Linked DNA regions of Homo sapiens: regions 2, 3, 4, 5, 6 and 7 are each linked to region 1. The links are contacts of gene promoters, found by promoter capture Hi-C in blood cells and fetal thymus (Javierre and others, 2016). All regions are on one chromosome and are shown on one strand. Each heading gives the region's core, a stretch centred on a gene start or on the middle of the fragment in contact. The rest is flanking DNA. Distances are from core to core; before and after follow the strand shown.

Region 1 (4,321 bases), core at 1,822-4,321:
AGCAGTCCACCTGCCTCAATCTCCCAAAGTGCTGTGATTACAGGCACGAGCCACCACGCCCAGTCCTGTCTTTATTTCCTCATCTTTAATTTTCTAGAATATAAAAGCCTTTTTCCCCTCCATCTTCTGTATAATCTGCTGCGTACACCTAACGGAAACGGGCACAATATTCCGCCGTACAGGAGCCCGGAACGGACCGACAAGAAGAGCCACCACAGGGATGTGAATGATAAAAACTGCTGTCCCAAAGCACTCAGAATGCAGCGTGCACTGTTTAGACCAGAAATGCTCTTTTGCCAAAAATGACCAATGTGTACGAGATTGGAAAGAAATCTTGTCCCAGTAACCTCAGGGCACACACATTCCAAGTTATGTTAGTTCCAAAGACATTGCACATATTTATAAATGTTCTTAGAAAAGGATTTCTAGGGGTAGCACCTTCCGCTGATTCTGCAAATCAACCATTCTTCTTTTTTTACAGATGAAGCCTCGTTCCAAGTCACACAGTAATATATGGAAAAGTTCTAGTTAAGGTTCTTAAGTTACTGGCCTCCTGCGATCTACTTTGCCACTAATGAACCTTGTGATTTGGGGTAGTTCCTCCTGATCTCACGTTAAACATGTTTACTGCAGCAGGATTCCTTGCCTGGGCTGAATGCCCCTTCTAGGTCACTTTCATCCCATCTTCTGCTTTCCCCACTTTTCTGAAATTGCCTATTTTATCCTCTGGAGCCTCTACTCCTCCCTACCTTGTGTTTGTTCTCTCTCTCACCCCCACACACATACACACCCTGTGTTGTGCAACACAGCAGCCATTAGCCACAGTGACTATCGAGTACTCCAAATGTGGCTAGTCCAAAATGAGATGTGATTTAGGCATAAAATACACACTAGACTTTGAAGGTTAAGTGATCTGGGGGTCCCGAGATTTTTCCTTTCACAAAGACATAGTAAAAAACATGGAATCTTCCATGAATAACTTTATATATTGGTTACATGTTGAAACAATAGTTTTAATATATTGTTAAATAAAATATATTATTAAAATTAATTTCACCGGTTTATTTTTTAATGTGGCTACCGGAACATTTTAAGTTACATATATAGCTCGCATCATATTAGTGCTGGACAATGCTGACCTGTACTGAAGGTTCTGTGAAGAATCTTTGGGTCATTTACCACTGTACTCCCTTTGCCCCCTCCCCACCCACTAGCACAACACCTGGCTCATAGTATGTACATAATCAATAAGTGTTGAAGCAGGGAAGTCTCTAAATCTCTCTATACATGTATTTCTTCATTGATACACTGTGAGTCTCTATTCACAAGATAATAAAAGTCAAGAAATTTATTACCCATTTTGAAAGGTAAAAAGTATATGAATATTACTGCTTTTGTTGAAAAGCATGAAAATAACGTTGATCCCTTAGGCAACCATCTGTATTCCTAAATATATTTTTTGAATTGTATTACACAAATACTATAAATTAAATGCTGAAAACGGTGGAGAGTGAACAGCTCAAGTGGGAAAACTAGAAACAGCCAAAGGAAAGCTGAGATACCACCACCAATGGGAAGGCAAACGGAGCCCACAGACTTATGATGACCATCTTTATTGTTCTGTTTTAATTTAAAAAGCAGAAGGCTCGTGGTGCTGATGGATTCCAGTGCTCATCGGAATATAATACAAGTATTTATCCAAGAGAGAGACAGTCTGTTTCCAAACTTGATCACTCGCCAAAAAAAAAAAAAAAAAAAAAGTGAATACAATTCTCTTTACCAAAATACCCCAGTATTGATATGCAGGTCCCAAACACACAATAGTTCTTTCACAAACTGGGTAACCAGGACACAATAAACACGACATGCGCACGTGAAAAGTTAGCTAGGTTTTCCCTGCCCTACCGTGAATCCGCATTTGCAACACTCCAGCCCCAACACCCAAACCACTGCTGACCCAGTGCTGAGGGACATGAAAAAAAACACAGCCACATTGCCATCCCCACCCAGTGTGGAAGCTGACGGCATGTAGAGATGTGGGTGGGTGGAGCGCAATGAAAAAGTGAAGCAGAAAGACGACTCATCTAATCCAGGACCATTCAAAGACCCGTAAAAAGGTACTTGTCTTTGTTGCGGGCTTTGTAAAGTCTTGTCAATCCTTCCTCGAAACCAGCCAAGTACCAAGTAACAAAATCCTTAACCCTGTGGTTCACATGAATACACCCCGGCAACTCTCAGCTGCCAGAGCTGGAATCTGGCAACTTCCCTGGACGGGAAAGGCTAGCCCACCGCCCGGGAAGTGAGGTGCGGGCAACAAAAGAACACAGGGTGGGGCCCAGAAACGGACGGGACAAATGGAGCAACACAGATTTTCCAGAAGGCCTCATCAGCGCAAGCAGCCAGCAACAGGTTGCCCTTGTTGCAGAAGTCACATAACCTAATCAACTCTGAATCTTTTCTCTCCTCCCCACTATCTAGAAACAGCTCAGGACTTAGGACTCTGTTAACTTCTCTGTCCACAAGAAAAACTTCTCTGTGCTCACAGGCACACACACAGAATCTGAGGAGAAAGAGGAAATTACAGAGGACACCCGTTTACTAATGATGTGGGGGGGGCGGTGGTGGCTTCAAGAGCGTAGTTTGGGAGCGAAGAGGAGGGCAAAAAAGAAGCCACATCCATTCGGAGCTCAGCTGACCTCTCGGCAGAACAAGTGTCAACGCTTTCAAAGGGCGCGGCTTGTTTCAGCCACGAAAACGCACCGGCTGGCAAGGCAGGCGGCTGGGGGCTGCCTACCCGGAAGCCGGGTGGGGTGGGGGCGGGAACACCTCCGAACCCCGACTCCGCGGTCGCCGCCCAGGCGCGCCGCCCCTCCCTCCGCGCCCGTCCCCACCGCGGGAAAGGGCACCCCGGGCTCGAGTCGTCGGGCAGCCGACGCCGGCGAGACGGCAGGGCGTCGGAGCGGAGGCAAACCCAGCGCGAACGAGGGAAGACGTTACCTTGTTCATCCCATTCCCCATGGTGGCTGAAGGCGAACGCTAGCGCCCCGGCCGTGTGGTCGCAGGCGCACTATGGCATGTTACAGGGAGGAGGAGCGGCGGGGCGGGCGGGGAGGAGGCGCGCGGGAGGGACTGAGTGCTCGCAGTGTCAACAAGTCAGCGGCAGGGACCGGCCGGGCAACCCAGGGCGCTCCAGAGACCCGGCGTGGAGGGCAGGGCTTTCTGTGCGGCGGCCTAGAACTTCCCGGCGGGAGCCGGGCAGGGGCACCGGAGCCTATGCCGGGAAATGGTCCCGCCTTGCCGGTCCCCGCCCCCGTGCGCACCGGGCAGGCCCAGCGTCCCTCCTCGCTCCGCCCGCCCGCACCCTGGGATTCGTAGTCGGGTTCCTGGCTGCCGCGCCCCACTCCGCCCTCGCGGACCCCGGCTCGCGGCCGCCGGGCGTGGGAGGCACTAGGCTCGGGCTCCCAGGCGGCCGGCCCCGGAGGCCAGAGCGCGTGCGCGGCCCGAGCCGCCCCGCCGGGACACCCGAGGCTGCGCGGCGGGGCCTGGCGGACGCGCAGGCGCTGCCCTGACCGGGCGGCTGCGCTCGTCTCGGAGCCCGCTCCCCGGCCGGGGGTCTCCAGATCCCCCTTTGGCCTTTTCCCCTGGGGCGACTCCGGGGGCCAGTTACCAGCAGTCGCTACCCAGCCTTGGCTGCCTCCGTGAATCAGGTGCTAATCAGAGGCCTGGTCTCTGGGGGCTCCCCTGCCTGGGTTTTCTGAGTGCGGCAGATTTAGGCTGGGGGATTTCCTGCGGCCCTGCCCCATGCACCAAGACCGAGAAGCCTCGCCTGGTGGGGAGAGGTGGGCTACGTGACTCACCCCGGGGAGGCCCGACCTCCCTACCCTGGGGGAGCAGATGGCTGGATCTCTGACCTCAGACCTCACGGCCTTAGATGATGTGTGTCCCTTAATGTCTGCATTGTGGTTCTGTCTGGAATGGATCAATTTCTAAACTGTAGCAGAATTGTTTTGGGTGTTCTATCAACGTTATTAAACTCTGAAGTTTCTCTCCAGCGACAGAATCCTTGAGCCAGTGGTTTTTCTTCTTAATTTATGTATCCTCAACAATGTCCTGAACATAGTAGGTGCTTAATAAATATTTGCTGAATGAGTACATGCGTCAATCTGACGTGCCCTGGCTCACCCCTGCTGACTTCATTTTATCTTCTTGCTAAGCGAGTTACACACATGCTGGTCTCCTGTCTGTTCCTTGAGCCTGTCAGGCTTGCTGGGCTGTGCTCTCTATCCAGACACCTGGATCCCCAGCTCTCTGCATACCTGCC
Region 2 (4,321 bases), core at 814-3,313, 250 kb before region 1:
TTTGTGTTAAGAATTGCAAGGTGCTATCTTGCAGTAAAAAAGTGGCTATTTGTAGAAGGTGGTTGCTTTGTTTTTATATAACAACAATGACATGAATATATTTATTGGAGAAATGTTATTTATCATTTTAAAATATGTGAAATGATTAGGAATTGCATGTAAAAGAAGCAAGTTTGGTTTTCTCTAGGTTTTTTGCAGTACTAAGTAGGAACTGTTGCTTCACTTTATATCACTAAGAAGTAGAATTAAATTAATTCTTAAAAAGATTTTTTCATATCCTTCCTTGTCTTTGTCCAGATCATTTTGAGACCAAGATAATACAAAGGATCTGGAGATTTAGCAGTATAAATGGTAGGCTCTTTCCCACTCAGAATTTGGATTTTTTTTTCATCGACCGTCTTGAATATTTTGAAATTCAGTTGTGTTTAGAATGAATAGATAGTAAACTAGATTTAGATGATAACATTTGCACTGATTTTATTCATTTGTGAATCTGTTAATTTCATGATTCCAACCAAGTAAAGTCTATTTCTGGCATCAAAGGGAAAGGTCTGCTGACTCTGCCACTGTTTTTCATAGTTTTCCCTCCAAAAGACAAATAATTCTAGGGGCATCGATCCCAGAAGAGTCACAGGGCACAGGTCACAGTGGATGGCTTATTCATTCCCTCTCTGTTTCCGCACTTGAAGATGAGGGTCTCTCATAGGGGGACCTCATGTCACTGGGTGTGAGACCTTCTCTCAGACTCCTCTGGTGTGAGCCAGGGCAGGCCAAGTGTTTCCTCCGGGGATATTTCCTCCTGCTTTCTTACTGGTACTTACGCCAGGAAAGGCATTAAACGGCCAGTTTTTCATTCCCTTCACCTGTTCCTCACCTTGAAACATGGAGATAAATTAGTCTTAATATAGGAACAGGAGACAAATAAATGTTTTTAGGGGATTATTAAAATGTAATGATCAGTGACATTTGAAGCTAGAATGATTTTATACATACACTTTTATTTGGTGCATGAAATCAGGAATGGTATCATCAGCTCCATAATCTTCATAGGGAAAGATACCCAGAGAGGTCAAGGACTTGACCTGTAAGAGCACAGCAAGGCAGGACTCAAAATTACATTTTCTCATTCTAAATCCGGAATGCTTTCTGGTCCAGCACCATGCATCTTAAAGAATAAAACTGGTCTCATGATAATACAGTTGACCCTTAAACAACTCAGAGGTTGGGGTGCCAACCCCCTGTGCAGTCGAAAATCTAAGTGTAACTTTTGACCACCCTAAAACCTAACTACTAGTAGCCTCCTGTTGGCTGGAAGCCTTATGAATAAAACAGCCTATCAGCATGTATTTTGTTTATCTATTGCATACTGTATTCCTGTAATATAGTAAGCTGGAGAAAAGAGAATGTTAAGACAATTATTAGGAAGACAAAATATATTAACACTATTCATAAAGTGGAAGTGAATAATTATTATGAAGGTCTTCATCCTCCTCATCTTCATGTGGACTAGGCTGAGGAAGAGCAAGAGGAGGGGTTGGTCTTGCTGTGTCAGGGGTGGCGGAGGCAGAAGAAAATGCGTGTATAAGTGGACCCACATAGTTCAGACCCGTGGTGTTCAAGGGTCACCTGCACACCAAAGAAATGAAAATAGGACCTGAAGCTGGTTGATTAGTGTACATTGTTTTGGCCTTTATGAAACCACATTGAATGATAATTCATGAGATCAGGGTATCCAAATCATCTTCTTCTACATTGTTCCTCCTTAAAAATAAGCCCCGTTATAAACCTTTGGTGGACTCGGTGCTGTCTGAATCCAGAAGTATGTGCCAACAGGGAGCGTCCTGCCATGTGCATGCATTTTCATTAGTATTGCCTGTACCATTTAGCTTTTGCTCAAGTCCTGGAGATGTCTTTTTCCAGTCATGCATTTTTTTTTCAACTTATAAAAGTAAGATCCAACCGTTATTCTTAAAAAGAAAAAATATTGGGAAGTCTAAAAAAAAATAAAAATTAAAATAATCTATAATGCACCAACCAAAGGTAGACACTACGATTTTAATATTTATAGTAACCATGACTTTATATATCCTATCTATATGTTATAAAAATATGAAACATGGTGAAAAGGAATTTGAGAAAAAAAGAAACATTTTTCTGAATTCATTTGACATTGTATTTTTCTACTGAATATATTCTATCATGAGTACTTTTCCATTTTTATTTAATATTTTTGTAAAATGTGTCTTATGGCTTTATAACATTTGTTAATGTGGGTATACGTAGTATTTTTAACCTCTCCCATACTAGTAACCTTAAGGTTATTTTTAATTTTTGTTGTTGTTACTGAGAAGTGAAGATAATCTTTGATCACATGTCTAATTACTTCCTCACGATAGAATCCTGAAGTAGATTCACAGCCCCAGAGGTACTTGGTAAATATTGCCAGATAGCTTTTTGGAAGCTGATCTCATCACATTTCTGTCATCTTTTTAATTACGATGTTTAATTCGATAGGTTAAAATAGGCTTTCATTGTATTTTAATTTGCATGCCTTTTTCTATTTAGGAGGTTAGCGCTTTTTCTTCTGTTATTGACTGTTTATATTCTAGAAGAACTAATTTTGAAGGCTCTTAGAGAGTTAAGATACATGTTGCAAATAAGTTGCAATTTAAGTGTGCAAACCAAATTTGCCACCAACCAAATTCTTTCATACCTTTGAGAAAGGAAAACCAGAGTTGTATGGTTAATAAACTTCAGCGTATAATTTTATTGTGGTAGGTATAATTACATAATTCCAGGGAGTGCTTTTACATATATAAAATACTTTTTTAATCTGTCCCAGTCTTTAAAAATAAGCATCTAATTCAGAATTTGTATACTTCCAGATTTTCACCTGACGAAGCCTGTAGACATTAAACATGGCTGGCATTAAATTTTTAATTGAAGTTTTTTTTTTTTTTTTTTTTTTTTTGAGACGGAGTCTCGCTCTGTCGCCCAGGCCGGACTGCGGACTGCAGTGGCGCAATCTCGGCTCACTGCAAGCTCCGCTTCCCGGGTTCACGCCATTCTCCTGCCTCAGCCTCCCGAGTAGCTGGGACTACAGGCACCCGCCACTGCGCCCGGCTAATTTTTTGTATTTTTAGTAGAGACGGGGTTTCACCTTGTTAGCCAGGATGGTCTCGATCTCCTGACCTCATGATCCACCCGCCTCGGCCTCCCAAAGTGCTGGGATTACAGGCGTGAGCCACCGCGCCCGGCCTGAAGTTTTATTTTAAGCCTGTAAATCTCTTTGAGAAACTCCGGCGTGAAAGGTGTGGAGGGGCAGCTCCTTTTTCTTATATGTCCAGGGAAGTTCCTTTATGCTGAGCAGCTGATTCTAGAGTTTTGCGTTGCTTTAACTGCATGTACTGTATTTTACATGTTTGATTATTGTAGCTTATTTGAATATCACTAAATTTCAAGTTGGAAACCATTTGAATACCTAGATGTGAGTGAGTACAGTTTTGTGTCTTCACTGCTGTATTATCTCTATATATATGTGTTTCATTTTCCTTGTGTTATACGTATAAACAAAATCAGCTAAATTTTGTTTACAGGCTATTTTATATAATAAATAAGTTGTAACTTAATCTGTTTCAGAGTTTAAGATCTTACAGACAGAAATTATAAGTTGATCAGATGTGTTTCTGCTTTCAAAACACTGATCCTAATTTTTGACCCTATTTGGCTGCCTTGAGTTTCTTGTTCAAACAGGAAGGGAAAGAATAAACATACATACTTAGAGAGATACCCCATCAGAAGGACTCAGAGACCTTGTCATTTACAAAGTGCTACCTCCCCAATACAGAAAGTACCTGAGAAAAGGTTTCACAAAGCAAGAAAGAACATAAGATTTCACATTCCAGATGCTGTTTCAGAGAGCGGAGGAAAGGCACCACATCTCTTTGGAAAGCTGGGAAGTGCAGGAAATAAGGAGTAAAACAGCTGGTTCTCCAGTTGGGTAGGGTGTGGCATTCCTAAGCCAAAAACTTTGAACCCAAGCCAACAAAATGTAGATAATTGTGGTACCATCCCCTGTATTTCTGTTCTCTGAGCATTTGATTTGTCTGCTTCCTCTTCATACTCAGCAGTTTCTGTAGACGACCTCATCTGCCTCCACAGCTTCACCCATCACTGACGGATGCCCATGATTCCCAGATTCTTTATTTTTGACCTGCATGTCATTCTGATACCTTCGATCTGTTTCCTACCAGACGTCCTCCCTGGAAGTTTCCATCGAGATTTCAAAGCAACCTGGCCTAACCAGTCATCTTCCTCCTTC
Region 3 (4,321 bases), core at 507-3,006, 230 kb before region 1:
GACAGAGGCAGAAGCACAGCTCTTCTCAAGTCTATGTTTGTTGAATTTTATTTTAAGATCTCTGCCTTTTGGAATGTATCTTGCAGATGTTTTCACTGAATTTTACAAGAGACATTGCACAATTAGGTTATCTCTTGCATCCTGTAACTTAAATCATTCAAAGCTCAGGTCCAGCGTAGAATTTCTAGAGAATAAGAAAAATGCTACAAGAATGGAGATAAGGAGAAATTGTAATTTTTGTTTGATTTTCAAAAAATGGAAAACTGCAGACAGACCTCAAAGTTTAATGTAGCTCTCTGAGAAAATGGACCATTAAAATGTTTTCAGGTCCTTATAAAATAAGTTGTATGTTACATGTATATGTGAATTTATACATATATTCCTTATACATGCATTTATATACACACATTACTAGGTACCCATGTTTAGTAACGTAGTCAGCATTTATTGCATATATACCATGTGCAAGGCAGAGGGCTTTGCATAAATCACCTGATTTAATCTATATAACAGCACCTCAAGGAGTAAGCAGTATTTTTATTCTCATTTTATAGATGAAGCCACTGAGCACAAAGAAGTTAAGTGACTTGCTCAAGTTCATGTAGCTAGGAAATGGTGAGGTAGGGGTTCCGAGTTCAAATCCAGGCAGCCCTTAATTTTAGGCATTGTGCTGTGTTGCTAGACAATAAACAGCCTCCATTAGAAATCCACGAAGAGCCGGGCGCGGTGGCTCACTCCTGTAATCCCGGCATTTTGGGAGGCTGAGGCGGGCGGATCACCTGAGGTCGGGAGTTCAAGACCAGCCTGACCAAAATGGAGAAACCCCATCTCTACTAAAAATATAAAATTAACCGGGCACGGTGGTGCATTCCTGTCATCCCAGCTACTCGGAAGGTTGAGGCAGGAGAATCGCTTGAACCCAGGAGGCAGAGGTTGCCGTGAGCCGAGATTACGCCATTGCACTCCAGCCTGGGCAACAAGAGCGAAACTCTGTCTCAAAAAAAAAAAAAAAAAAAAAAAAATCCACAAAGAAAAAGGCAGATGTGCTGGTAGAATAGACACAAGTTCATGAAATTCACAAAATAACTAATATGGCCAATAAATATAAGAATAGGATAAAATTCATCAATTCTCAAAGAATGTAATTTAAAATACCATTAGGGTATCATTTTATTAAAACCCTCTGGATTGACAGATACTGTAAAGCTTGATAATACCTGCTTTTTGGCAAAGGTACAGAGAAAAAAACTATTCCGTCATCTTTCTAGGAGTGTAAATTGGCCCATCTATACACATACGTGTGTGTGCGTGTGTGTGTATGCACACATTTATATGTATAGAATTTACTTAGAAATTTTGTGTCTAAGAATTTGTCTTAAGGAAAGTTTTACAGAAGTAAGTAAAGAATTATGTACAGTGATGTTTATTGAAACATTTTTTAATATATGTAGAATCTGAAAAACTAAATGCCCATCAGTAGTGAATTGGTTAGATAATTTGTTATATATCTAAACAAATATTATACTTTCTTTATAATGGATGAGATGGATAGATGGATAAGTAAATGCATACCTATATGTGGGGGACTGTACATATATTGGTAGAAAATGTTGATTAAGGAGACATGCATTCATTCTTTCCTCATTTTTATTGAAAAAGACAATGTATCTATTTCATATGTACAATTTGACATGTATACACATATCTTGAAAGGGGATAAGAAGGAGCATGCTAGAAAACTTTAATTTTCTACTTTAAAATTTTGTTTTTAAAAATATTGGGGCAGAATAGATGTATTTTTATTTTAAAAAAAGAAATTTCTATATTTTAAAGAAATGAAAAACTTCATGGAGACAGCATACCCACAAAGAACAGGCACATGCAGTACTAACTTGTTTTCTTCTTGGACACACACTTGATTTGATAGAGAAATGGCATACATGGTGAATTTAGGTTTCTGCAAGTCATTTGACAGTTTTTCCTGATATTTTCAGGAGTCCTAGTTGCTGACTTATTGCCATCATGTCTTCATGTCAGTCTAGAGGAAAGCCTCTAGTCATTGCAAGAACACTCATTGAACAATGTTCAACATTTTATTAGACATTTGAAAATGGAATAAATTCCACTTTGGGTAAATTTGTGAAGAAAAACCTAGTAAAGTTAGCTTAGTAGTAGCACTATCTTACACTTAGAAAGTTTTTACAATGCCTTTATGTAAGCCTGTGATGGAACTATCCTAAAATTAATGATAAAATGTAGCATGCTTTCTTAATTAGAACTACCACAGAATAAAAAGTGCAAGCTTCAGAGGAATTTTGGTTTCAGTAATAGAGGAAGAACTTATCAGACTAACCGTTCCACAGTTAAAAATTGAACTCTGCACAGAATATAGAAACCCAGCTGTGAGAAGCACTGGAGAGCCGTCAAAAGCCGACAGACTGGAGGGGGCGCTTGAACCCTTGCAGGAGGGGAGCTTGCACCAGCCAGATCTGAGGGCCATCCACGACTGCAGCAGGTGCCCAGCACTCCTGCAGAAGGCACAGAGGGATGCAGCCAAAGAAACACTCGATGGAAACTTGAATCTAAAGGAAGGAATAAAAAGAATCAGAAATGGTTGATATGTGGGAAAATAGAAAAGACAAACTTTTTGGGTTTTGACTTTTGATTTTTTAAAAGATGATTAAATATAGAAAAATTTCTATATTTATTAAGTTGAATTCACAATCAAAGACCTTTCTTTGTGGAAAATTCCAAGTCCAAATGGTTTTACTGATAAGTTCTATGTAACATTTAAGGAATAAATAATACCAATTTTATACAAACTTTATCAGAAAATATAATAGGAAGCATATTCAATCTTATTTTATGAAACCTGCATAACCCCAAATCAAAAATGTGACAAGAACATTACAAGGAGAGAAAATTACAGACTAGCGTCCCTCATGAACGTTGGAACAAAAAATTGTAACAATTATTTTTAGCAGATCAAAGCACTATTGTCCATGCAGTGGAACACTAATTCATTATGACTAAGTAGGGCTTCTTTTTTTTAATGTTTGAAATTTTTGTTTTATTTATTTTTATTTTATTTCATTTTCCTTTAAGTTCTGGGACACATGTGCAGAGCGTGCAGGTTTCTTACATAGATACAGATGTGCCGTGGTGTTTGGTAGTCATGGGACGACCAGAGGCAGGAGCCATGCTGACCTCTTCACAAGATGACACCTCTACGTAATTACAGTCATTGCCGAGTCTGGTGGTTCTTCCCCATACGTAAATGTCCTAATGAATGACCGAATAAGGATTATAAGACATTTTTCTTTCCACTCAGCATATATTGCTCTTACTTTTCTATCAATAAAAAAATAAATCCATAAGCAGAGCTACCCCCTCTGTTTAACATAATCAAACTTCAAGTTCTCCTCCCTTTGCGGCTTTTTCAGTTTTGGTGGAAGCATCTAGATATATTGTAATGTCTTAGTTCAGCTCTGCACCCCACCCACACCTTCATACTACCCCAAACATCACCTTCAAATAATAACATTGTATTCACGTTATCAATTCAGCGGAAAATAGAGGTAGTTTTCCATTCCCCATTGTACATTTTTAAGAGGAATTTAGAAAGCTGCATTTTAATCATATGAGTTAGTGATATCACCAATAAGGTCATTTGAGGCCAGGGCTTCAGGGTTATAGTGAGCTATGATTGCACCACTGCACTCCAGCCTGGGCAACAGGGAGAGACCCTGTCTCAAAAAACAAACAATTTTTTTAAAAGAACTGATTATACTTTGGCACCTGCCAAAATAAACCATACATTCATTGCCCTGTTTAAACTTAGTCTAACTTGAATTCATAGATATGAAAATATACATGTTTGAAACAGCAAGAGTAGAATAAAGTGAAATTAATCTCTTAATCTGTATACTCAATGTCTACAAAATACTTCATGTACAGATAGAAAGTACATTTTTCATTCATAAAGTCAACAAATATTACCAAGTCTATACTATACAAAGCACTGTCCAAGTTTTCCAAGTTGTTCAAATAGCAGTTTCTGATTTCCAGGTTTAAAGCATAAATAGAGAAGCCGACAGTTCTGTGCGTAGGAGGTGGACGCACTGCGTTCTCACTTAACCAAGGTGGTAAGCACGAGTGTGCTCCCTCAGCATCTGGGGAGCCAGGGTACTGATCTCAAGAGTGTGCCCTGAATGTTCTCCATTTGAAGGACACCAAACTGGTAGCACTTGGACACACCCCCTTGGCCAGCAGAGGCTCTAAATGTCCCTTTCTGCATAGCGCCATCCCATCTCTGGTTTCT
Region 4 (4,321 bases), core at 557-3,056, 210 kb before region 1:
GCCTGTTCCAAAATCAAGTGACCTTCCTATATGATTAAAAGAGGAAACTGACAAATATACCAAGAAAGAAGGCTGCTCTACTATTTTGATGCATGAAAACAAGATCTTCGTTGCTGGAGAATATGCTGGGTTACACCGGCTGGCTTACAGGAAACAGCCTACAAGTTCTTGCTCAGTAGAGATGAGCCTTGTTTTCTCCATGGGGAATTTCCACACGGGGCTACTAGATTAATTGCTAAGTGGTAGTAGTCTAGGTTGATACTGTGTGGGTGGGGACACTTTTTGTCAAATATCATGACACATTCTAATTTCATATTCAGACAGTGGAGGAGATACATGTTGTAAATGCTTAGAAACTGTTTCTCATTCCCTCGCTTGAACAACATGGAAAGTTGTGGGGGTTTATTGAAGGGGAACCTTTTTAAAAACAGTACTTATTACTGCAGCATAATAATGTAGCCTTTAACTCCAAGGAGCAAATCCGTTTGCCTTGTATTTTTCTTGGCACACTGTCCACACTGATGATCCCTCCCTAATACTGTGTGCACCATACATTTGGCATTGTATGGCCCACTGTTGTTGGAGCACAAACTGAAACTTAGGTTTCCCTGCACACTTACGTGTTCACTCCATCCTGATATACCTGGACATCTTCCTAATATCCAGCACGTGCGGAGCATTCAGCAAATACCTAATGACATTATTTCAGTATATTGCTGGAAAAATAAAGCATATTTTGGAAAGCAAATAGATTAAGCCTCAGCAATATTCTATACTACTGTACTTACTTTATTCAAACTATATTTTTCAAATGGATCCTGATGCTCAAAAGGACTGTCTTTGTGAGAAGCGAGAGATTGTATGCTTTCCCAAGGAATACCTTCTTTCCATGTATGCCGAGGCACTTACTTTTAGTAGATGACGCAGATATATTCTGACTTGAGCATTATAGAATTCTACATATATTTAGGTTTTTCTCTGATGTGTTTATTCCCTCATTCATTCACTTATCAACTGCATAAGTCTTCAGAACTTAGTAGTGAGCAAGACAGACATGGTCTTTGCCTTCCTTTGTTTGTCATTCACGGATATTTTTGAACATCTTGTGCCATCTGTGTGCCAACCTCTGTGATGGGAGCTGAGGCTATGATGAGAAGGAGAATGGCAGATGATCCCTGTGCTGTGGAGTGTACGGTCCAATAGGAGAGACAGTTGTTCACTGAGTGATCACACAAAGGACTGCAGAGCTGCCCCAGTGGGACCGGGGACACAGTGCCCAGGAGGACAACGGTGGATCCAGGCAGCACCTGGGAATGCAGAGTGGGGTGGGGCGGGGCCGTCCTAACACCTCCCGCTTGTTGGCTGCCTGCTGTCTGGCGGATGCCTCCCTAGCCTCTTAAAAACGTTATTCCACTTAAATGTTGTCTCTGTTTTACAAAGGAGAAAGCTACAAGTCAGAGCAGTCCAGAAACTTGCCCCCAGGTGACTACTCAGTAATGAGTGTCTGAGGCCCAGTCTAATTCTGTCTGTGTCCCCCGATCCTCTTCGCTCAGGCCACGGCTCAGATGTCGCCACAGAAGCAAAGTCTTCCCCAGCCATCACCGGCATTTGACATTGAGCCATTCTCAACACCAGTGCAAAGTATGGTGAGAGTTGAACGGAAATTCTAACTTCCAAGGACTATGTATGAAACCAGCAAAATGAGGAGTACTGTCAAGGACAAACGTTTCCAGTTCTAGCACATCACAGCCATATTTCATGTTGTATTCGTGTTTTTTTTTTCTGCCGTTGTTGTGTTCCTATATGCAAACTCAACTGTTAGCCATTCCTTGTACCACTCAAAAGAATTAATGTACAGCCAGGATCTGCAGCAGCTAGACAGTCATGGCAGGACCATTGTCCAAACTTAATACCTTGCATTTCAGAAAGAGAAATCAGTGTGCTGTTTCTAGTCATTATGCTTTTTAGTCAACTGTTATGTCTTTAATTTTAAATTAACACCTGAAATATGTGTACTACTTTAGAATTGGCAAGATGCTCCTCCCCACTGACCTGTAAGCTCTCTTAGGGTGGGGGGTCCTGTCTGTTTTGCCCACTTTCTTATATCACCACCTGTTGATGCCCAGCACATGATAGATACACAGCACGTGTTGGAAGAATGGGGGAATTGCACACACGTGGCATTTTCATAACAGCTTCGTTAGCAAAATGGGTCTCGTGATCTGTCTGTTTCGCAGAGTAGGCAGTTGTCTGAAAGATAAGCTGAGTTGTGGAAGGTCATACGATTGGTGTAGGGTTAGCCAGGAAATTCCATCTCAAGTGTTCTTTCTGTCACCTCAATAAACTTAAAAGGAATTATCAAGCACTAACGTTACTGATAGTGACATTGGAATGAAATTCAATGGGAGGAGGACATATGCCACCAAAAATAATTGCAGCATGGCCCCTCTGTCACCGTCACTGGCCCTTTGAAAAAGGTTCTGTCACCAAAAATCAGATTCTGGTCCTGCCGCCAGGAGCCACAACTGAGGTCCTTTGAAACTCATCCCACACATCGTTCTGCCATCACCGCGAGGCCTCAGCCGCTTCCATAACGGATGCACACGGAGCCCCTCTCTGACGGCCTCTGCCTCACCTTCTCCGTCTGACCTCCCATTTAAGGAAGAGACTGCGAGGCCGCAGGCGAGCCCTGCATCACCGTACGTCACCGTCCCAGCCCCTGCCTGGTCTGGGCCTCCTCTCAGTGTTCGCATGTGCATGCCTTTACCCTGGCTGCCAGCACCTTCCTCTGCCCAGTCGGGAAAGCACGTGGCTACTGCTTTTGCCAACGGTGTTGGCCGTCAGAGCTGCATGGAGCCAGCGAGCCGGGCCACCCCAGCACCTGTCCCAGCACGGGCTTCTTTGGACACAGGTGTTTGAAAGAGCTGACATCCTCCCACAGACAGATTTTGGATAACATTTTGAAACAGAAAACAAGCAATTGGAAGTGAGTGCTTTATGGGAGTAAAAGTCTTACTTGGACCCAAGAGCCCACGGGACAGGCTGAGGAGGAAGGCGAGGGTGCGGGCGTGCTACTCGGCTGGTCTCTCCCTAGGCCAGTACCCAGCTGTGGCCGGAGTGAAGAGAGAAAGGAAGCGAAATTCTGAACGAGGAAGACCACAGAGATCTTACCGGTTTCCCAGACACGGACACTATCTGGTCTCTAGGCCCTTTGCCCTTCCTCTGTTCCTATCCAGTACTATTCTTTAACCGTTTAAGGACTTCACAAAATAAATATAGCAACCAAACATATAACAAATTATTTTAAATTGAAGTATAAATTTTTTTATGTTTAGTTTTTGTGGGTTCATAGTAGGTGTATACACTTAGCAGTTACAAGAGAGATTTTGATACAGGCTTGCAAATGCGTAATAAATAAATACCACATCATCAGGGCAAATGCGTAATAAATACCACATCAGGGTAAATGGGGCAAAGATGTTTTTTACAACATGAAATTCTTTCATATGGCCATCCTGCATATATTGGCAGGTCAAACTTGTAATAACTAAGCACTTTGGGGTCTTACATATACTGGAGATGTATACGTGTTCTACTTGGAGCACCATATGCCTTGAGCACCTCTGCCATGTGCCTAGTGGCATCCTCCATGTAGTAGGATCTCAATGAATTTATGTTAGTTGAATGAATGAGAACTTTTAGCCATTCCCTTAGAATGAACAATTTCAGCCCAATCGGTAATAAAAAAAAAAAAAAGTACTTGCTCCTGTATTTAATTCAGCGATTAGCTTTTTGGAGAGAGACCATCAATGATTTATTTTTATATTAAAGTTTTTGTTACCAAAAATTATAATACCAGCACAGGCACTGCACTGGGAGGTTATGATGGCAGCTCGCAGAGCTCCGCCTCACTCCGGCCCTTTCCGATGCATCCAGTTGAATGCTGCCTCTTTGAACCTCACTGGCCTGATGTGTGGTTTGACTAGCGGTACCACTTCCTGTCCACACAGGACCACACATTTTTCCCTTCTCTTTTTCCAACATTACCAGTTATTTGTATGAAGCAGTTATTTCGTTTTTTTGTGTGAGGGGAAAGAAGGCAATTATTTCCTTTTTTTCATTCAAAAAGATAAAATCTAGAAATACAAAAGTTCTTTCTTGTCCAAGGTTACGTCTTTGAGCTCCTTATATTATCCATGTGAAACCTGTGCTCGACCCAAAATAGGAAGCTTGATTTTTTTTTTCCAAATTTTCTGCCCACAAAAATATGGTTCTTTTGGTTCAAAGGGTCCTGTGCCTTTATTCTTCCCATTCATAGCTT
Region 5 (4,321 bases), core at 482-2,981, 190 kb before region 1:
TCAGTGCTCCAGTGGCATTTCATTTCCAGCACACCCATGTTCTTTGTGGGTCACAGCATGGCTTCATGTGAGTTAGCTGAGCTGGCCTCACTTGAATGGGAAAGAGCTATTAGAAATCACTTGGTTTTTTACTAAGACTTTCTTTATCAGTGTACCATGAAAGAGCATATTCTAGAAATGATTTGGGCATTGCAAAACAAGCATCATTGCCTTAGGCTGAGCACACTGACTCATTCTCCTGTCTCTTGTCATCTTTGCATGTAGATTTTTTTAAAGGGAAGAAATAGAAGAGATTATATTTTTATTCTGGATTTGGTACAAGGTGGTGGTGTGTATTTCTGTTTTGATCACGTGCTATGGGATATTCTGTTAGTTTCATAAGCGTGTTGTGTAATGTTTTCAGAAAAGTTACAAATTTTAACTAGTTTTTAAATCAAGATTAGGTTTCTAAAAGTCAAATATATTTTATGTAATATTCATAAAATAATTATGCATAGACTAAACTTGCATACATTTTTGTCACTGAACATTTATCTGTTGGTTCTGTTGCAAAGATTTTCATATAGATCTGTGAACTGCTCTGAAAGATATATTTAATATATCACTCCTCAATTAGAGCAGCAGCCATAATTATTTTAGCTTTGCTTTAAACACAGTTGCATATTACTCTATACTAGGGCCATTATGCTTTTTGTGTGCTGATCTCATCTCATTTCTGCTCCCCCAGAGGAGGATTTATTACATTGAGGTTTATTACGTGTATTACTGGAAAGCCTTTCTGTACCTGGCCAGGTTAGAAATATATAGCAATAAACATCTTACGGACAAGACCTGGGTCTTTGGGTAACTTGTTTGCAGTTTGGCTAATGAAAGGCAGTAGGATATCAGAGTGTCTTTCTCCTGTCTAGGCACAGAAAATCCTAGACAAAGTGGGCAGTGAAGCTTGTCTTGTGCCTTCAACAGTGTTTTACCATGACTGGAAGCCGTTGGTTTTCTTCTTGTGGTCACTGTTGATATTTTCATGGTTGTTATCATTATCATCTCGTCACATGTTAAAAAAAGATTCTCGTACCACCTTCCTACAACCCCTCTAGCCAGACACAAATCCCTGAGAACCAAGACCACTTTATCCACAATGAAGTAAAATAAAATACGTTAGCAACAATTTAATAGGAGATATCAGCAGACATAGAAACAATTTTTAAAATGAAAAATTTAGAACCAAAAAATATAATTTCTGAAATAAAGCAAAAATACTGACTGGGCTTAAATAGCAGTGAGGATAACTGAGGAAAGAGTAAAGGAACTTGAAAATAGACAGATCAACGAGACAAAGTTAACAAGGATACCCAGGAATTGAACTCAGCTCTGCACCAAGTGGACCTAATAGACATCTACAGAACTCTCCACCCCAAATCAACAGAATATACATTCTTTTCAGCACCACACCACACCTATTCCAAAACTGACCACATACTTGGAAGTAAAGCTCTCCTCAGCAAATGTAAAAGAACAGAAATTATAACAAACTATCTCTCAGACCACAGTGCAATCAAACTACAACTCAGGATTAAGAATCTCACTCAAAACCGCTCAACTACATGGAAACTGAACAACCTGCTCCTGAATGACTACTGGGTACATAACGAAATGAAGGCAGAAATAAAGATGTTCTTTCAAACCAACAAGAACAAAGACACAACATACCAGAATCTCTGGGACACATTCAAAGCAGTGTGTAGAGGGAAATTTATAGCACTAAATGCCCACAAGAGAAAGCAGGAAAGATCCAAAATTGGCACCCTAACGTCACAATTAAAAGAACCTGAGAAGCAAGAGCAAACACATTCAAAAGCTAGCAGAAGGCAAGAAATAACTAAAATCAAGAGCAGAACTGAAGGAAATAGACACAAAAAACCCTTCAAAAAAATCAATGAATCCAGGAGCTGGTTTTTTGAAAAGATCAACAAAATCGATAGACCGCTAGCAAGACTAGTAAGACAGAAGAATCAAATAGACGCAATAAAAAATGATAAAGCGGATATCACCACCTATCCCACAGAAATACAAACTACCATCAGAGAACACTACAAACACCTCTACGCAAATAAACTAGAAAATCTAGAAGAAATGGATAAATTCCTCGACACATACACCCTCCCAAGACTAAACCAGGAAGAAGTTGACTCTCTGAATAGACCAATAACAGGCTCTGAAATTGAGGCAATAATTAATAGCTTACCAACCAAAAAAAGTCCAGGACCAGATGGATTCACAGCCGAATTCTACCAGAGGTACAAGGAGGAGCTGGTACCATTTCTTCTGAAATTATTCCAATCAATAGAAAAAGAGGGAATCCTCCCTAACTCATTTTATGAGGCCAGCATCATCCTGATACCAAAGCCTGGCAGAGACAACCAAAAAAGAGAATTTTAGACCAATATCCTTGATGAACATTGATGCAAAAATCCTCAATAAAATACTGGCAAACTGAATCCAGCAGCACATCAAAAAGCTTATCCACCATGATCAAGTGGGCTTCATCCCTGGGATGCAAAGCTGGTTCAATATACACAAATCAATAAATGTAATACAGCATATAAATAGAACCAAAGACAAAAACCACATGATTATCTCAATAGATGCAGAAAAGGCCTTTGACAAAAATTCAACAGCCCTTCATGCTAAAAACTCTCAATAAATTAGGTATTGATGGGACGTATCTCAAAATAATAAGAGCTATCTATCACAAACCCACAGCCAATATCATACTGAATGGGCAAAAACTGGAAGCATTCCCTTTGAAAACTGGCACAAGACAGGGATGGCCTCTCTCACCACTCCTATTCAACATAGTGTTGGAAGTTCTGGCCAGGGCAATTAGGCAGCAGACAAAGGTTTTAATGCACTTTATCCGCAATGAAGTAAAATAAAATATGTTAGCAACAATTTAATAGGAGATATCAGCAGAGACATAGAAACAATTTTTAAAATGAAAAATTTAGAACCGAAAAATACAGTTTCTGAAATAAAGCAAAAATACTGACTGGACTTAAATAGCACAGTGATGATAACTGAGGAAAGAATAAAGGAACTTGAAGATAGATCAGTGGATATTATCCAATATGAAGAATAGAGAGGGAAATGTTTGGGCAAGTTTTCTAGAGACCTGTTCAATATAATCAAATGGTCTTAACACATGGATAATTGTGGTCCTAGAAGGCAAGCAAAGAGAGAATCAGGCAGGAAAAAATATTTGAAGAAATAATGGCTGGCAATTTCCCAAATTTATGGCAGATACAAATTTACAGATTCATAATGCTCAACAAACAGCAAAAAAGATAAAGACAAAAAATGCCACACTGCCATAAACTGTTAAAGCCAAAGCTAAAAAACAGATCTAGTCAGCAGCAGTTGAACAACTACCTGCTACATACAGGAGAAGAACATTGGACTCAACTTCTGGCTTAACATCAGAAATTATGGAGGCCAGAGAGAGTGAAATAGGCATCTTTAAAGTGATAGAAGAAAAAAGCTGTCAATCCAGAGTTCTTCACTTCTAAGTGAAGATACTCTTTCACAGCTAAAGACATTTCTAGATAAAAGAAAACTAAGACAATTTGTTGTCAGCAGACGTGCACTATAAGAAATGTTAAACGAAGTTCTTCAAACGGAAAGGAAATGGTATCTGATGGAAGTGCATATCCTCACAAAGCAATGAAGAGCATTAGAGATGGTAAACAGCTCGGTAAATACAGAATTCTTTCTTTTTGCTTTTTCTTCTTAAAGGTTTTATAATATATGACTGCGAGCTCCAGCGGCACAATCAGTTAGCGTGAGGTACTTATATATGACTGTTTATAAAGTAGTATAGCATTGTCCTGTGGGTTTATAGCCTATATAGATGTAAAATAAGGGGGGGGGGAATGGACCTATATTGGTGCAAGATTTCTACATTTCACATGAAGTGGTAATATATTACATGTAAAGGGACTGTGAAAAGTTAAGGATATATGTTGTAGTCCCCAGAACAATCACTGAAACAATAATGTAGAGGCGTATAGCTAAAAAGCCAGTAAGAAAAGTATAATTGCATTTTTAAAATAGTCGTGTAATTTTAAAAAGGCATAAAAGGAAGAACAGAGAACAGATAGAAAATAACACAATGATATGTCCAGACACAACCATAGCAATAATTTCATTAAACATTAATGGATTCAGCATTTCAATTAAAAGGCAGAGGTTGTCAGAAGGAATAAAGAAGCATGGCCCAACTATATGCTGTATATAAGAGATGAAACTTTATATTTTAAAATGGCGC
Region 6 (4,321 bases), core at 935-3,434, 170 kb before region 1:
AGCTGTTCTATCAACATAAAAATCGTGGTGACTTTGACACAATACAAGCTTATAACCTGCTCCCATGGAAGTCCAGCGTGGTGTGGTGTTCCTGGTCAGGTTGTTCCTGGAAGGCTCCCCTTTCAACAGCAGCTCCCGCCTCCCGGGGCTCCAGGATGAGCTGGCCTGTGGCGCGCTCTCCACCCAGTCCTCAGCTGGAAATGGGAAACCTGAGGCTTGCACGGCAGGACTTCTCTGGGGAGGGCCAGGCCAGGACACGGTCCTCCTGCCCACATTCCTTCAGCCTGGCTCAGCCCCATGCCCCCACACTGAAGACCACACTCAAGTCCAGGGCACATGGAGTCTGGCCATGTGCCCACCACACACGTGATAGACTGAGCTCAGCCAACTCGTGCAGTTCATAACACAGAAACCCTCCTCTCTCTTCTACCATAAACTGCCAAGCTTGCCTCATTTCCTTCCTTCAGAGGATACGAGACGTAGATGTCCACAGGTTACTGTCATGTTTTCTACCCTAGTCCTTGCCTTTCGAATGTCTTTGAAGACTCACCAAGCAATATAAGATCAAAATTCCTGGGTCTCATCAATACCAGATCACCAGCCCCGGTTTTCAGTCCCCAATCCTAAACCGGGCTCCGGGAGCTGGATGTTCCATCTGTGCCCCGAGGCGTCCCTGCTCTGACCTCTGCCTTGGCAAACCAGCACCCAGCATTCTGGCTCCTGGATGCCTGTGAACGACAGGAACCTGGCAGGAGAAAGGAGAAAGAGGATGGGGCAGGTGGCGGGAGCAGATGTGCCACTGGTTGGAAGGCCACCTGTCCTTTCAGTCACCCTCTGCACTGGAGGGGAGTCTGCCCTTGATTTTCCTCCTCCAGGCCCTCGGGTGGGAGGACCTCTGCAGCCTGCAGCTCCCCCCATGCTGTGTCCTGTGTTTCCACAGGACCTTCTCTCACCTCTGCAAACAGCCACCTTTTTAAACCATTGCTGAATTCTCCGAGTTTATGGGTACCATCGGATGGATTCCTGGTGAGATGTTGCCTGGGATTCCTGGATCCCATCAGCTTCCAGCTGGATGTTTAAGTCCAGGCCAACCCTGTCCCTGCCTGCTTCCTGCCCCGCCACCCCCCCCCCCCCCACAGTGTCCATGGCAGCCTTCACCTCTGTCTTCAGGCCACAGCTGAATCTTCATCTTCTTTATTCTCAGACACCTCCCAACCTCCGACCCCAGCTTTAGGGGTGCACAAGCATTGGGGCAGCTTGACCACCCCAGCCGCTGATGAGTTTAGCCCACTCTCTGCTCAGTTTGTTTTAAAAAGGATTAGAGGCGAGGTGCGGTGGCTCATGCCTGTAATCCCAGCACTTTGGGAGGCTAAGGCAGGTGGATTTCCTGAGGTCAGGAGTTCATGACCAGCCTTGGCCAACATGGTGAAACCCTGTCTCTACTAAAAATATAAAAAATTAGCTGGGCATGGTGGTGCACACCTGTAATCCCAGCTACTACGGAGGCTGAGGCAGGAGAATCACTTGAACCCGGGAGGCAGAGGTTGCAGTGAGCTGAGGTCGCACCACTGCACTCTAGACTGGGCAACAAGAGCAAAACTCCATCTCAAAAATAACAAAATAAAAAATAAAATAAAAATAAAAAAGATTAGACACCTCCCACACTCAGTCACCACCTACCACTGGCTTCGGAATCCCCCGTATTCCACCTTCTGGCTCACTAAGGAAAGTCTCCTCACTAAGATGACCAGTGGCTTCCAAATTGCCAGGTCATACCCACGTTTCAGATCTTATCTCATGAGGCTTTTGGACCTTTTGATCAGTCCTTCAAATAATTTTTCATAACCCAAGTCGTTTTGGTAAATGTTGAAGAAAATGCTGAAATAAAGGTAAGCCAAAAAAAAAAAAATTTATGGTCCTACTACCTAGAGACAACCACTATTAACATTTTACTGTTAGCCTTCCGGACTCTTCTGTGCTTACATATTAAATGGATGTTAACGAATTAATAATACATAACATGTAGCAACCACCTTTAAAATATGATCATCTTGCCTTATTAAAAATATGAAGACATTCATTTTAGTGGCTGCATTGGGTTGCAGGGCGTGGACTTGCCTACCTTTGGGAATGTTGATTGTTGCCCATTTTCCTTGTTGGAGAACAATCTTGTGATGAATGAACTCCTTAGTACTTCATATCTATTCACTCTCATTGTTTTCTTAGAAAAAATTGCTAGAAGTTAAAGCCCCACTGCCAGCTGTCAGCCCCCACACATCCCCTTTCTGCATGGTTGTTTCCTAGGAGTATACCCTTTTCCTAAGTGCAGAAAAGGACGGAGGAAGAGCTGCGACGTGGTTGCAGGTGTCAGACTCCCCCATGAAGGAGGGAAATCTGTCTGCCTGCCTGGGCGCTAGGACTGGAGACAGGTGCCAGGGAGGGTGGCAGCGCTTCTCTGCCTGGAAAACAAAGTGGAAGCCTGAGCTGGTATCTCTCCGGCATACTCCTCCCTCCGGGCCATCACTGCGTCCTCCTGCGTCCGGCATTATGTTCCCTCTGCAGGCCTTTGCTGCTGGTGCGGTGAGACTTTACTTAAGGGGTAGCATTTTAGTAAGAAGTCTGACAAGCAAGGCTATTGACATCTTGAATGTGAAGTGAAGTCCGTGCTTTCCTGCTTCCTGAGATTCCTCTGGCCCCGTGGCTTCAGTGAAACCACACCTTCCTGTTTCCCTCTGAGCCCTTCCTCCTCATCTTTCCGTCTCCTTCTTAGGCTCCTCTTCTTCCACACAGCCCCTAAATTCCAACAATCACCAGGCTTTCCCCCAGAAATCACTCTGCTTACGCTCCCCACTCGCTGTGCCTGTATGGTGGGGTGGGGTCCAACCCACTCAAATTATTAGCCACTAAGACACCCTTGACCCCTTCTTCTCTCAGACTCGAAATTCATCTGCCCAACTGCCTGCTAAGCACCACCTGTGTAATTTATGGATCTCAAAGTTGTTGGGCTCAAAGCGGATTTCACCTCCCTGCCCCTCACTCAGGGCTCCCCTGAGCTGTCTGTGTCAGGGGATACACTGCTGTCCACCCAGCACATAATCCACAAACCCAGCCGTTCCCGTGTGTTCTTCTCCCTCACGCCTCCCACCTGGCCAACCACCACCCATCATCAACTTCACCCTGGAGGAATCTGTCCAATGGGCAACTACTTCATCATCACTGCCCTGGCTAATGCAGGCCCTGGCCATCTGCCACCAGGAAAACGTACCAGCTGGCCTCCCTGCCTCCCACCACCCTTTTCCGACCCAAATGCAACCTCGCAGCACAGTGTGGTAAGTATTTCTATATCTGGATACTGGATACCATACCCTATGCTACTCCTCCACCAAGACTTTCCAATGCTCTTACTGCATACGGGATACAGCAGACAGCCCTGCAGGATGTGCTTCCCGACCACCTTGCCTGCTTTAGCTTTCACTCCTTTCTTTACGTACCAGAATCCACACCTGGATTTTTTGTGATTTCCATGATGCACACCTCCAACCCTTTGCTAATAACATTCATTGCCTGGAATGTCCTTCCTCTCTATGTGACCAATTTGACCTCTCCATAAGTTTCAGCTCTCTTAGACAGCCATTCCTAACTTTTTTTTTTTGTCCCCACAAATAGATGCTTTTCTTCGTGTTCCCAAAATGCTCTTTGAAAATGTATGCCATTACTCTTACCACATTGCATTGCAGTTACGTGCTTTTACAACTAGACTTTGAGATCCAGGAAAGCAAGACTATGCCTTTTCCATGTCTGATTCCCTGGTTTCTATTCTAGTATCTGGCACATTGACACTCAATAACTTTTTAAATATATGGGTGAGTAATATTTGTCTTCCAATATTAGAAGAGCTGCCATTAGAACATGTAATAAGCTTACATTTAGCCGAAAGAGATAGGTTTAACGAGCGAAAATTATGAAAGGACCAATTGAAACTTGACACGAGAGAGATCTTCTGGCAATCAGAGCTGCCCAGAGATAAAATAGGCTGCCCTGAATGCTGGAGAGTCCCATTATCTCTGGGAGATACGAATACACAGGCCAGACAATTAGAGAATTTGGGTAAATGGTTGGACCAGTTAGCCTTGAAGTTCCTCTTCAGGAACCCTTGTACACTGTTTGTGGGAATGAAAATTGCTTTAGCCATTATGGAGAACAGTATAGAAGTTCCTAAAAAAATTAAAAATAGAACTACCATGTGATCTGACAATCCCACTACTGGTTATCTATCCAAAGGAAATACATTACTATCTCAAAGTGATATCTGCACTCTCAT
Region 7 (4,321 bases), core at 1,268-3,767, 140 kb before region 1:
GGCCCCGCACTCGGAGTGGCCAGTTGGCCCGCAAGTCCCGGGCAGTGACGGGCTTAGCACCTGGGCCAGCAGCTGCTGTACTCGATTTCTCGCCGGACCTTAGCAGCCTCTCCGCAGGGTAGGGCTCGGGACCTGCAACCAGTCATGCCTGAGCCTCTCCCCAATCCCAGCGGTGGGCTCCTGCACAGCCCGAGCCTCCCGGAGGAGCCCCGCTCCCTGCTCCAGGGCGCCAGTCCCATCGACCGCCCAAGGGCTAAGGAGCGCGGGCGCACAGCACGGAACTGGCAGGCAGCTCCACCTACGGCCTCTCTGAAGGATCCAGTGGGTGAAACCAGCTGGGCTCCTGAGTCTAGTGGGGACTTAGAGAACCTTTATGTCTAGCTAACGGATTGTGAATATACCAATCGGCACTCTGTATCTAGCTCAAGGTTTGTAAATGCACCAATCAGCACTCTGTGTCTAGCTCAGGGTTTATAAATACACCAATCGGCATGCTGTATCTAGCTAATCTAGTGGGGACCTGGAGAACTTTTGTTTCTAGCTCAGGGATTGTAAACGCATCAATCAGCACCCTGTCAAAATGGGCCAATCAGCTCTCTGTAAAATGGACCAATCAGCAGGATATGGCGGGGGAGGAGCAGGGAGAGAGAGCCAGGTAAGGGAATAAAAGCAGGCTGCAGGAACCAAAAGTGGTAACTCACTCGGGGTTGGTTCCACATAGTAGGAAGTTTGTGCTTTCTTTCTTTGCAATAAGTTTTGCTGCTGCTGAGTGTTTGGGTCCCTACTGCTTTTATGAGCTGTAACACTCACCACAAAGGTCTGCAGCTTCATTCCTGAAGTCAGTAAGATCACAAACCCACCAGAGGCACTGCCTTAAGAGCTGTAACGCTCACTGTGAAGGTCTGAAGCTTCATTCTTGAGCCGGCGAAACTGAACTCACCAGAAGAAAGAAACTGGAAACAGGAACATCACTTTTAAGAACTGTGACACTCCTCGCGAGGGTTTGTGGTTTCGTTCTAGAAGTCAGTGATAACCAGGAACCCGCCAATTCTGGACACACAGGTGGAGGGAGGATGCCTGTGTGCCTCCAGGGACTGAGCTGCATCCTAAAATCATGGGCTCCATTGTTCCACAATCTCTGAGAAAGCCTGGGGGCGGGAGGGCCTAAGGAAAATGACCATAGGACTTTGTTTAGCATTCTTGTGTTCAGTGCTGGGGGTGCCTGGCCATAGCTGGAAAACACTTCGCTCCTGCTGTTTTGAAACTTCCCTTGTGCCAAGACAGAAATGCCAAGGGAAGAAAAAACATGAAGCGTGTGGTCCCAGACACAGAAGCCATGTCCATCCCCTCCTCTCTCCCTCCTGTTCCATCCCATGGCTGGTTTTCGTGGCCCTGGGCCCTCGTTCCAGACCTACAGGTACTTGCTGTTCCTCACCTAGGGAACATGCTGTGAAAGGAAACGGGATTATAGGAAAATGAAAGAGAAGGTAGCGAAGATGCTGGCAAGTCAAAAATGTATCAGTGTCTGGGATGGCCTGTGGGGATCAGTGCCTCCCTTTGTCCCGGCAGAGTCGCAGTAGCAGGGCTGAAGCCCAGGCCCGACTTTGCGGCTCACACGCCCTTAGCTTACGCATCTGTGAGCAAAAGCATGCTGGGTCTAGGAGGCACTTTCTAGCCTGGCCTGTGTGGTGCTTAGGGTCCCAGCCATGGCATGCTGAATGTTTGCTTCTCTTTGCTGATCCTTTACTGACCTGAATGAAACGAGGAGACTATAAAAGTTGTCAATTACATCAGCTTCTTTTTTTCTTTTGTTTTTCTTTTTTAAGTTTAATTTTGGCTCTTCTAGGAACGTTATGTACTTGAAAAACAGAATACTATGGCATTCCTCAGTGGGAAAACAACTTTTCTCAGATCCGAAGCTACTAAAATGCCTACTTTTGACGTAGGGTTTTTATTTTTTTTGTTTTTAAAAAGAAAGGTGCAGTAAAATTTATTTTTTATTTATTTATTTATTTTTTCAAACGGTCTTGCTCTGCTGCCCAGGCTGGAGTGCAGGGGTGTGATCTCAGCTCACTGCAGCCTCCACCTCTTGGGTTCAAGCGATTCTCATGCCTCAGCCTTCTGAGTAGCTGGGACTATAGGCATGTACCACCATGCCTGGCTAAGTTTTGTATTTTTTTTTTTTTTTTAGTAGAGACAGGGTCTCACCAGGTTGGCTAGGCTGGTCTCAAACTCCCGACCTCAGGTGATCTGCCCACCTTGGCCTCCCAAAGTGCTGGGATTACAGGCGTGAGCTACCGCACCTGGCCAAATTCACTCTTTCTGGTGTGCAGTGCATCAAATTGGGTAAGCACTACCATAAGCACTACCATAAGCATGGCGCTGAACAGTTGGGTCCCTCCTCATGCTGCCCTGGGGCAGACTCCTCCCACCCTCAGCCCCTGGTATTCCCTGATCTCTCCTCTGTTCTTACTATTTTTTGCCTTTTCCAGAATGTCGTATAAGTGAAACCTACAGTAGGTAGTTTGTTGGGTCTGGCTTCTTCCACTTAAATGCATTGAAAATTAATTCATGCTTATGTGAAGATAAGATTTCATCTTTCTTGGTTAAGGGATGCCTAGTAGCAGAATCTTTTGGTCAGATGGTAAGCATATGTTTAACTGAATAAGAAACCACCAAACTGTTTCCCAAACTGGTTTACCATTTTTCACTTTCGCCAGCAACGCGTATGAGAGTTTTGGTTGTTCCGTGTCCTCTTCAACACTGGGTATTGCCAGATGTTTTCATTCCCGTTTTAGCCATTCTAATAGGACTGCAGAGCCCCTTGTAACTGAATTTGAATTTCTGAAATGATGAATGACATTTAACAGCCTTCCATGCGCCTATCTGCCATCCACATATCTTCCTAGGTGGAGGTTTATTTGCTCACGAAATATTCAAACATGCAGATGTAACAGGTTCTCCTCCGCCCACTCACCACTGATGTCTGGAGGAGGGAGTCTTTGTCTGGCTGTTGGTGTGCAGCATTCCCATGGATGCTCTTGATTATTTGTTACTTATGTCGGTCACCACAAACAATATAGCTTGAGAGGCAGCATGAACATAGAATATTTCTGGAAAAGCACAATGGAAATGGAGATTCCTACCCATCTTCAACATCTGACTGTTTTGGCAGTAGTAGACACTGGGGGCTACTAGGTCGGGGAGAGAGTGGGGTAAGGGTTGAAAACTACTTATTGGGTGAAATGTTCAGTACCTGGGTGATGGGATCCAACGTATCCCAAACCTCAGCATCAGGCAATATACCCATGTAACAAACCTGCACATGCACCCCCTGGCTCTAAAGCAAAAGTTGAAATTATATATACATTGAAAAAAGATGTGGCTCTCCAAGCCCACATCTCCTGATATGCTCCATGAGTTGGCCAAGGCTGCATTGGTTCTGTTGTGTGGCGCTCTGACTTTTCTCCTGTGGTCTTTTTACAGGGTTGGTTGGGATGTGAGTGTAACCTCTGCTGGATGTGGTCACATACAACTGTCTCTTCTCAGTTCTTTGCAAAGCTATGACTGTTCCTGTGAAGGTGTGGTTTGAGGTGGCTGCTGGATTTGACCCTGACTTCAGGAAGTTAAAGGCAGGCGCTTATTCGGAACTCTCCTTTCCCCCACCGCACCACCCTGCGGGAAGGACATGCATTTCTAGTGTTGGCTTCTGCATGGCTGCCTGGGTCATGCGTTTTTGTAGCTCATTAAGGATGACTCACAGGGAAATGAACAGAGGTGGCAGCTCTGCGTGGGTCTGAGGCTAGTTTAGCTTATTTGTCTAGTGAAAGGGGTAAGAAGGCCAATGCCATGGCATTGAAACCAGTGGATACCAAGCAGGTGTCAGCCATCCTCAAAGCACATATTTCCATGAGTATCTAGGAAAAGAGGTGGCATGAATGAACTAAGGGTCTCCTACCACTGGGAAACAAACCTGCCGGAGCCCTCGTGCTGGCGGGCCAACGACATTCTCTCTCTATGGGAGCAGAGCATGTTTTAAAGCTGTTTCAGATGGTGGTGATGCGTCTACCGGAGCAGAGACCCATTTCTTGGTCTAATGTTGTCCCAGCAGAGCTAGAAAGCTTAACTCAATGTCTTACTTTCACAAGACCACATGGCTCCAGGGGCATCCCCAGTCCTCAGAGACATGCCCAGGAGTACATCGACAGATACTCAGTGCACAGGAAGCAGTAATAACAAAACGTGGCAGAGCGGGAGTGTGACACCCACCACTGCCTTTCACCCCATTCGCCTCAGTCCCCCCTTTCTTTCTTCACCTCTT

What was found. Contacts are between HindIII fragments. The CHiCAGO score rates a contact against its expected background, and 5 or more counts as called.
Region 2: a fragment that was not itself captured here is called in contact with the fragment with the promoter of DUSP22 in region 1 in 3 of 17 cell types (activated CD4 T cells, naive CD8 T cells and non-activated CD4 T cells); the score reaches 6.8 in activated CD4 T cells.
Region 3: a fragment that was not itself captured here is called in contact with the fragment with the promoter of DUSP22 in region 1 in 5 of 17 cell types (activated CD4 T cells, total CD8 T cells, non-activated CD4 T cells and 2 more); the score reaches 8.8 in activated CD4 T cells.
Region 4: a fragment that was not itself captured here is called in contact with the fragment with the promoter of DUSP22 in region 1 in 3 of 17 cell types (total CD8 T cells, naive CD8 T cells and activated CD4 T cells); the score reaches 8.0 in total CD8 T cells.
Region 5: a fragment that was not itself captured here is called in contact with the fragment with the promoter of DUSP22 in region 1 in 1 of 17 cell types (total B cells); the score reaches 5.4 in total B cells.
Region 6: a contact is called between a fragment that was not itself captured here and the fragment with the promoter of DUSP22 in region 1, in 1 of 17 cell types (total CD8 T cells). The highest score is 5.7, in total CD8 T cells.
Region 7: a contact is called between a fragment that was not itself captured here and the fragment with the promoter of DUSP22 in region 1, in 3 of 17 cell types (total B cells, naive B cells and activated CD4 T cells). The highest score is 6.5, in total B cells.

What each region holds. Positions count from the first base shown.
Region 1 is chr6:291,237-295,557 of GRCh38, reverse strand. It overlaps DUSP22 (dual specificity phosphatase 22), which reads right to left and starts at 3,071. Exons shown (of 7, transcript NM_001286555.3): 1 at 2,998-3,071. The coding sequence starts at 3,018. RefSeq lists silencers at 1,779-1,838, 1,849-1,908, 1,788-1,944, 2,689-3,708 and enhancers at 2,339-2,598, 2,891-3,391, 3,392-3,892, 3,819-4,108. The HindIII fragment of the contact is 6,707 bases long and covers 1-4,321 here.
Region 2 is chr6:543,804-548,124 of GRCh38, reverse strand. The region is part of intron 22 of EXOC2 (exocyst complex component 2); the gene reads left to right. Among named protein-coding and RNA genes, the nearest start is that of HUS1B, 110 kb to the left of the region's middle. The HindIII fragment of the contact is 5,921 bases long and covers 1-4,321 here.
Region 3 is chr6:523,134-527,454 of GRCh38, reverse strand. The region is part of intron 23 of EXOC2 (exocyst complex component 2); the gene reads left to right. Among named protein-coding and RNA genes, the nearest start is that of HUS1B, 130 kb to the left of the region's middle. The HindIII fragment of the contact is 1,096 bases long and covers 1,209-2,304 here.
Region 4 is chr6:502,601-506,921 of GRCh38, reverse strand. The region is part of intron 23 of EXOC2 (exocyst complex component 2); the gene reads left to right. Among named protein-coding and RNA genes, the nearest start is that of IRF4, 110 kb to the right of the region's middle. The HindIII fragment of the contact is 4,850 bases long and covers 1-4,231 here.
Region 5 is chr6:480,075-484,395 of GRCh38, reverse strand. No RefSeq gene overlaps it. Among named protein-coding and RNA genes, the nearest start is that of IRF4, 90 kb to the right of the region's middle. The HindIII fragment of the contact is 1,573 bases long and covers 945-2,517 here.
Region 6 is chr6:462,096-466,416 of GRCh38, reverse strand. No RefSeq gene overlaps it. Among named protein-coding and RNA genes, the nearest start is that of IRF4, 73 kb to the right of the region's middle. The HindIII fragment of the contact is 3,475 bases long and covers 447-3,921 here.
Region 7 is chr6:431,520-435,840 of GRCh38, reverse strand. No RefSeq gene overlaps it. Among named protein-coding and RNA genes, the nearest start is that of IRF4, 42 kb to the right of the region's middle. RefSeq lists a silencer at 931-1,095 and an enhancer at 869-1,098. The HindIII fragment of the contact is 3,213 bases long and covers 911-4,123 here.